Regions from separate parts of the Homo sapiens genome. Here all the other regions are linked to region 2. The links are contacts of gene promoters, found by promoter capture Hi-C in human tissues and cell types (Jung and others, 2019). All regions are on one chromosome and are shown on one strand. The core of a region is centred on a gene start or on the middle of the fragment in contact, and the rest is flanking DNA. Distances in the headings are between cores, read along the strand shown.

The links. Contacts are between HindIII fragments. The study calls those that stand out against the background at their distance.
Region 1: a fragment that was not itself captured here is called in contact with the fragment with the promoter of PRDM2 in region 2 in 1 of the 25 tissues and cell types used here (liver).
Region 3: a contact is called between a fragment that was not itself captured here and the fragment with the promoter of PRDM2 in region 2, in 1 of the 25 tissues and cell types used here (dorsolateral prefrontal cortex).

What each region holds. Positions count from the first base shown.
Region 1 is chr1:14,788,339-14,791,038 of GRCh38, forward strand. All of the region lies in intron 1 of KAZN (kazrin, periplakin interacting protein), which reads left to right. Among named protein-coding and RNA genes, the nearest start is that of KAZN, 190 kb to the left of the region's middle. The HindIII fragment of the contact is 5,713 bases long and covers 1-2,700 here.
Region 2 is chr1:13,698,852-13,701,583 of GRCh38, forward strand. It overlaps PRDM2 (PR/SET domain 2), which reads left to right and starts at 1,337. Exons shown (of 10, transcript NM_001393986.1): 1 at 1,337-1,449. RefSeq lists a silencer at 1,090-1,859. The HindIII fragment of the contact is 18,174 bases long and covers 1-2,732 here.
Region 3 is chr1:14,936,718-14,939,417 of GRCh38, forward strand. All of the region lies in intron 1 of KAZN (kazrin, periplakin interacting protein), which reads left to right. Among named protein-coding and RNA genes, the nearest start is that of TMEM51-AS1, 210 kb to the right of the region's middle. The HindIII fragment of the contact is 9,973 bases long and covers 1-2,700 here.

The sequences.
Region 1 (2,700 bases), core at 127-2,626, 1.1 Mb after region 2:
ATGGTTGGGACTCCAATAGGAGTAAGGCAGGGAAGATAAATCTTTAGCTCAAATGAATTGTGATTAACCACAAATACTAAGAGGTGCTTCGGGGAAGCCGGGGTGGGTAAATTGAATTCATGGGGAGGCAGCCTTCAAGAATAGTCTCTGTCCAAGAAGATCGATGCAGCACAAAGGCTTATAAGGTTTTCTTTCTCCTACCTCAGGCTTTTAGAGTGATGAGCCATGAGCTACAGGCACCTGTCTGCATGAATAAAAGATGCATTGAGACCCAGTAGACCCTAAAGCACCAGGCACCAAAGGGCCTCCGTCAAAGCTTACGACCCAGAGGCCTGACCGTGGTGACTCTGCTGCTACCGACACTCATCTTCCAAGCTGGAGATGGCTTTTCTTCTGCAGTTTCATCACCTTTAAGATACTTGTACATGTGGGAGGTCACCACTTGTACACGTGGGAGGTCACTTGTACACGTAGGAGGTCACCTAAGAAGGGAAGTGGTGTGATCTGAGGCATGTGGACAGCCACCTCTGATGTCTGGGACACCCTGAGACACCACCATCAGAATCCCATGGGTTAAGATCTCCTCCAGATCATCAATTTACAAACGCAGTTACCTTTACCTGGGAAGGTTACCTTTAACTTCCCATAATGCCTTCATGAGAACAAGTGAGTAGATAATCTGGCTCTTTTCTAGCAGAGTCCTGAAGGGATGGGACACTGGACGGGTTAGTTTTGATATGCGGATGAGGGTCTTACATGTCGGGAGCATTCGTTCATTCCCTCATTTGATATTCACTGAGCATCTCCCAGGAGGGGGCCTACTCAGGCTGAGGGCTTTGGGGACAGGAGGACGCCAGGAATCTGGTAGACGGGATTGTAGGGAGGGCTTCCCAAGGCAAACCTTGTCTGCCTTACTGCTTAAAACTAGAGCCATCCCAGAGTCAGGGAAGAACACATGTGATTAAGTCACTGTCCAATAAAGTCTGTTTCCACAGACCAAATCCATCCATTCCGGTCAGCTGATGTGCAAGACCCTCCTCACTTTTCCAGACCTGCTTCCCTCTGCTTCCCCACATGCCCCACTGTCCAGGCAAATGGAAACACCTGTGTATGTTCCAGTGGCTGAACCTTTGCTCCTCTGGTGCCTCTCACCTGAACCAGCCTTGGGAAGCATTTCCATCTATCGGGACACCCACCAGTCGGGACCCTTCCAGGTTCATCTCTGATTCTACATTCTCCATGTCTCCTTTCCTGTTTCCTGTGATCAGATGGGACCTGGTCCCCCTTTGGGCCTCCTTAAAACAAAACTTTAGCACCTCCCTCCTGCCTATGGTGTGTTCTGTCCTGTCCTCAAGTCATCTGTCCTCTTATCTGAGTCCCCATTCTTACTCTGAAGGCAAGGACTCTAAGCTCCTCATTACCAAAAAAAAAAAAAAAAAAAAAAAAAAAAAAAAAAAAATCCCTAGAGCCTAGACAGTATCTGGCACACAGTTAATATGTTTGCTGAATTAAAGCTTATGCTCTGGCTACAAATTGCTCCAGGCACGGAGTAGATGACATCTCCTAACCACCATTTGTCAAAGGATTCTTTTCTTTCTTTGTGGAATATGGTCTCCTATAACTGAGTCACCATATCTTGGCATTCCTTGAATTTCTTTTTTTTTCTTTTTTCTTTTTTTTTGAGACAGAGTTTCACTCTTGTTGCCCAGGCTGGAGTGCAATGGCGCAATCTTGACTCACCGCAACCTCCGCCTCCCAGGTTCAAGCAATTCTCCTGCCTCAGCCTCCCAAGTAGCTGGGATTACAAACATGTGCCACATGTCCAGCTAATTTTGTTTTTTTCTTTTTTTTTTAGTAAAGACGGGGTTTCTCCATGTCGGTCAGGCTAGTCTTGAACTCCCGACCTTAAGTGATGCGCTCACCTCGGCCTCCCAAAGTGCTGGGATTGCAGGCGTGAGCCACCATGCCTGGCAGCATTCCTGAATTTCTTGACCCAGGATGGGATATACATGGAATAAAGGGGCTTTTTCCACTTTTCTTATTTTGCAATATAATAATTCATTTACTGGAAAATGTAATAATTCACATACCATAAGATATAATAATCCACATACCATAAAATTCACCATTTTAAGTGTACAATTCAGCGATTTTTAGTATATTAACAGAGTTGTGCCACCATCACCACTATCTAATTACAGAATGTTTACAGCACCCTAAAAAGCAAAGGGGCTTTTTGTTAGCTTTAAGTATGTGGCAGTTCTTTTGTTGGGAAGTCATTCAAGCAATTTTCACAAAGTTGTCCAATCCAAGTCCCGCCAGCCAGGGATTTGGCCTTTCCCACCAGGTCTCCTAGAATTGGAGGAATCCGGTGACTTCTTTTTTTGTTCTGTTGCTGAGGCAGAGTGCAGTGGTGCAATCTTGGCTCACTGCAAATTCTTCCTCCCAGGCTCAAGCGATTCTCTCACCTCAGCCTCCCGAGTAGCTGGAATGATATGCGTGCACCACTATGCCAACTAACTTTTGTATTTTTAATAGAGATGGGGTTTCACCATGCTGCCCAGGCTGATCTCGAACTCCTGAGCTCAAGCGATCCTCCAGCCTTGGCCTCTGAAAGTGCTGGGATTATAGGTGTGAGCCACCGCACCGGCCCCCGCTGGCTTCCAAGGGAGGGCAGGCTGGATTCCATTTGCTGCCATC
Region 2 (2,732 bases), core at 87-2,586:
CCAGGATGGTCTCGATCTCCTGACCTCGTGATCCACCCGCCTCGGCCTCCCAATGTGCTGGGATTACAGGCTGAGCCACCGCGCCCGGCCTAGCCTCATTCTTTTACAATAAGATAACATGATATATGTTGATACAACACGTTTTCTTTCTTTTTTGAGATGGAGTCTGTCTCTGTCGCCCAGGCTGGCGAGCAGTGGGGCGATCTTGGCTCACTGCAAGCTCCGTCTCCTGGGTTCACGCCATTCTCCTGCCTCAGCCTCCGGAGTAGCTGGGACTACAGGCACCCGCCACGTCGGCCGGCTAAATTTTTGTAGTTTTAGTAGAGACGGGGTTTCACCGTGTTAGCCAGGATGGTCTCGATCTCCTGACCTCGTGATCCACCTGCCTTGGCCTCCCAAAGTGCTGGGATTACAGGCGTGAGCCACTGCGCCCGGCCAACACGTTTTCTTAAGATTAAACCTGTTACATAAATGATCGTTCATAATTTTTGGAAGCACACCTGCCCTTAGTATCCTGTTTTTCCACTGGGTGCTTTCTGCAGATGGCCAACGTAGCCATCACATTCGGATTCTTCCTGACTTCATTCTCAGAGGATTACTTTATCTTGAAGTGCTGAAGGCTCCAGGCACCATCTATAACGACAACTCCCAACTTTCCAGCTCATCTCCAGCCTGTGCTTCTCCCCGACTCAACTCATTTTCAACCACGTGCTAGGCCTCCACCCTTGGATGTCGAAGAGCCATCTCCAGTTCCACCCAGTTCATCTTCATCAGAACATCTATGAGTCGTCGTCTCTGCAGTCCATTTGTTTGCCCGCTTGGGAACAGCAAGCTCCTTAAGGGCAGGACTACTACCGCGCTCTCAGAGGCGCTGCACTGGAACATCGCGGGCACAGGGCAGCGTTGGTCACTGCTCCTGGGTACTAGGGCAGCAAATAAACCCAGCAGCTGCGTCTGTCTGCCTGGAGTTGGATCTTTTTGGTATAGATCCAAACGTAGAAGTATAAGGTCTACGTTTATGTACTTGTCAGATATTTAATGACCTCCAACGATAGACATGCCCCCCCAACACCTCCTTCAGTCTTTTTGATTCTTTGAGAATCTTTGAACCACGCAGGATCCTAGCCCTAGGGTGCGGTCGGACTTGCCGCGACGCCAGCCGCCGGGGTTCCTTCCCGAGGCGCCGCCATGGGATCCGCGGTGACCTACGAGGGGCGGCTGGGTGGTGGCCATTGGGCGACGGCGCAGGGTCAAGGGCCGGGCTCTGGGATCGTGGGGAGACCGGGGGTCCCGGAGCCCCCCAGCCCCGCAGGCCACTGCCTCGCCGCCCGACGTCACTTCCGACTGGAGTCAAGATGGCGGCGGCGCGGCCGCGGGCGCCGGGGCCGGCGAAACAGCGGCGGCGGCGGCGGCCCTCGGTGCTCTGAGGCGCTGGCGCGGCGGGCGCGGGTAAGGAGTGGCGCGGGTGGGCGGCCTCTGGGCTCGCGCCGGGACGCTGGTCCCTCCCCCCGAGGAGCGCGGCGGCGACGGCGGCGGCGACACGCTGGGGACCCGGCGCCGCAGGGATGGCCGGGTCGGCGGACGCGCCCCCTCAGAGGTCCCGGGCGTGCCGGGGGCCCCGGGACGAGGCGCGGGCCTCCGGGTCGGTGGCCCCGCGGGTGGGTGGCGGCGCCGGGCTCCTCCTTGTCGGCCGTGGGGTCCCTGCGGCGAAGTTCGGGATTCGGTTTGTCGCCGTGAAGAGCCGCGCGCCCCGCGGGGGACGCGTGCGGGCTGCAGAGACTGGCCGGGTGCGGGCGGCGGTGGGGCCACCTGGGGCCCCACGTGGGGCCGGGCGCCGTCCCAATTGTCAAGCCGCTGTGCTTTTCTCTTTTGTGTTCCCACTGAGTGTGTCTTGCACATTTGCACTCCAAATTTGTTTTGTGTCTTGCGTCTTTGTGTTTCCCAAATAGTTTTTGTGTGGTTTTAACCTGGAGATTGTCTCCCTCAATGTTCCCATAGACCCACGGGTGTATGTGTGTGTGTGCGCACGCGCGCGTGTGTGTGTGTTACAGACGTGCAACTCTGTTACTAATTTTGCTAATAAAGCTATCAATGAACCTCTTTTGATGGTGGTAAGTGAGACATGAAGTAAACCTAACAGGTCAGTGTCATTCCCCAAACCTTCGTGGTTCTTTCGATCCACGCGTGAGCCACCGACCCTCCGGGCTTGTAGCTTTGTGTCGGGCTGTGAGCTGCGGCAAAGACCCCATAGTTAACCGGGAAGTCCTGATTTCCTTAACTACGCAGCTGAAATTTCCCCTAACAGAAATTTCGTGCTGGCCCCTCACTTTTCTTTTAGTGTTGTATTGAGATTTTGGGTGTATTTGAGACGTGGAACGTCTTTTGCTGAATCCCAGTAGGTCCTTAGATCCCTTTAACCAGACACTAGAAGAATCATTTTTACCCCAGAACTCGACTAAAATGTTTAAGTTTTTGTTTACTCCAGGTTTATTAAAAGTGACCGAAACTTTTAACAACAAATGGAACTCTTCAATGATTTCTTTTACAATGGTACACACTTCGCCTCGGTTTGATCAGTTGTGTCCAAGTATTAGAAAAATGTAGGCCTTTTAAAAAAAAACATGATAGGAAATTTACATATATTAAGGAGGAGGAACTGAGACACACTGTCATACGTTCTTTTTTAGTAGGGTTCTGTGTTTTTGAGATGGTCCAAACTGCCCCATCACTCT
Region 3 (2,700 bases), core at 161-2,660, 1.2 Mb after region 2:
CTTATATTCTGGAAGAGGGTTTTTTTCTGCCTAAAACTCCTGACTGAAACCAGAAAGGAAAGATACCCTCCCTCACCCTGTCCCCAGATGCGACAAGCCTCCTTGTTCATCCACATGGCGGGCATCCAGCACCTGCTCTGTTCTCGGTTTTGTGTGAGGCTCCATAAACGTGACAGTCCCCCTTCTGTCTCCAGTGGAGAGGAGCTCAGGGCCTGTCTGTCCCATGAACCACCCTGGCTCATTCCTACCCTTCACCTTGCTAGTTCTTGCCTCTGTTATCTTCCCACCCCGAACTAAGTCCACATCCCTCCCCATCCTGGGCCCCCAACCTTTCTGTGAGCCTTTCTTGCTCATTGCAGCCCCTCTGGGCATAATTCTTGCAGTGTGCAGCCCCTCTGGGCATAATTCTTGCAGTGCCATCTGCAAGTGTCACCCAGAGGACAGCGTGGCAGAGAGTGGCGCTGCAGAAGGTGAAGATGGCTCCTCAGCAAGCCTGTGTCTATGCCCCTTGCTAGGTGTTATAGGACCAGAGGAGAGCCTTCATCATAGACCCTGCTAGTTAATTACTTGCAGGTTTTCTTAGAGCACCTACTTGGGGCCAGCTCCCTTTCTAGTTCCCTGCAGAGGAGCTCAGTTTTCTCTTTTACGAGTTGTTTGTACTTTCCTGCCTTTCCCTTCCCCCTCCATCTTCAAGGACTAGCAAATCAGTTGCCACCTCTTAGGTTCTGTCCACAGTCTCCTGGCCGTAATAATCACGTCCCCTCCGCCTCTCTCCCTGCCATCCTTCTTTGATCACACAAGTCCCAGGTCAGCTTGTAGGAGGACCCCTGGATCTATCAGCCTCCTGAGTATGGGGCCTGGGTGGGGTTGACTGAACACCTTCTCCTTCCCACCCCAGTGTGCCTGCTCCCTCAAGGGGCTGCATAAGCACTTGCTGTCACGTCCCCTTCGCCAGTTTCCTGGCACATCCCTGATAGAGCTGAGCACGCTGAGGTCAGCAACAGCAGCTGGTGTTTTGGGTGCTCCAGACGGCATCTGGCTCCTCTCAGTCTTCCCAGTGGGAGTCTGATCTTCCAGCCTGTGCCTGGAGCGTGGCCATCTCCCTGAAAGGCGCTGATTGCTCTCCTTTAGAGGTGACTTGAATCCATACCCAGCAGGCAGGCCGATGCTACCTTCTCACAGCAGAGCAGGCATGCATGGCCCAGGAAGGTAGGAATTTAGCAACAGGGCACCTTTGCCTTACTCTGTGCTTGGTGGTATTTAGGGCGTTTTAGCCTTCCTTGTGTAGAACAGGCTCCCCTCACTGAGCTAGGACAGGTACACAGACACAGGGCTCTGAGTGTGGGGACGTTGGAGTCTATGTACCAAGTGCTTAGGGTCATAGAGCCCCACTGCCTGGGTGCAAATTGTTCCAACAGTGGGGACCCTGAGCAAGTTCCTTAACCCCTCTGAGCCTCAATATCTTCATCTGTAAATTGGGGTGCTAGCCCTATCTAGTAGGGGTTTTGTGGAGATTAAGATCATTTGTATTGGTTCAAAATGGGCCGGATGCGGTGGCTCACGCCTGTAATCCCAACACTTTGGGAGGCCAAGGCAGGCGGATCACCTGAGGTCAGGAGTTCGAGACCAGCCTGGCCAAAATGGCAAAACCGCATCTCTACCAAAAATACAAAAATTAGCCAGGCGTGGTGGTGGACACCTGTAATCCTAGCTACTTGGGAGGCTGAGGCAGGAGGATCACTGGAACCCGGGAGACAGAGGTTGCAGTGAACCAAGATCGCACCACTGCACTCCAGCCTGGGCAACAAGAGGGAAACTCCATCTCAAAAAAAAAAAAAAAAAGGGTGCTGGAGTGATATAAGACTCACCAGAGAGATGGCCAAGTCAGACAAGTCCAGAGTCCAATACTCAATAGGACGTCAAGCACTGGGGCAGGATTTGGACTTCCTGGGGAGAAATTTTTGCAGTTAGCATCTGCCCGGGCTTTGCTCTCCCACTTAGAAGGGGATATCTGGCGACAGTTGGTCAGAATCTCATGCATTATGAGAAGACCACACTGGAGACTCTCGGGCAAGCTGCTTAATCTCTTTGAGCCTCAGTTTCCACCTCTTGTAAAATGAGAATGATGGCACCCATCCTACAGTAGGAACTTGCCAAATAGAGCTGCTGCTTTATCAATAAACCATCTTAGATACTGTGTGCAATACAATGGATTGCAGATAATGATGTTTATTTATTTATTCATTTTTTGTTTGATTTTGTTTTTGTTTTTTGAGATGGAGTCTCACTCAGTTGCCCAGGCTGGAGAGCAATGGCATGACCTTGGTTCACTGCAACCACCACCTCCTGGGTTCAAGCTATTCTCCTGCCTCAGCCTCCTGAGTAGCTGGGATCACAGGCACCCACCACCACACCAGGCTAATTTTTATACTTTTAGTAGGGACAGGGTTTCACCATGGGGCCAGGCTGGTCTTGAACACCTGACCTCAGGTGATCAACCCACCTCGGCCTCCCAAAGTGCTGGGATTACAGGTGTGAGCCACCGTGCCTGGCCTGTTTATTCATTTTAGACACAGGGTCTTGCTCTTGCCTCCCAGGCTGGAGTGCCATGGCAGGATCATTGCTCGCTTCAGCCTCAAACTCCTGGGCTCAAGTCATCCTCCCACCTCAGCCTCCCGAGTAGCTAGGACTACAGGCACA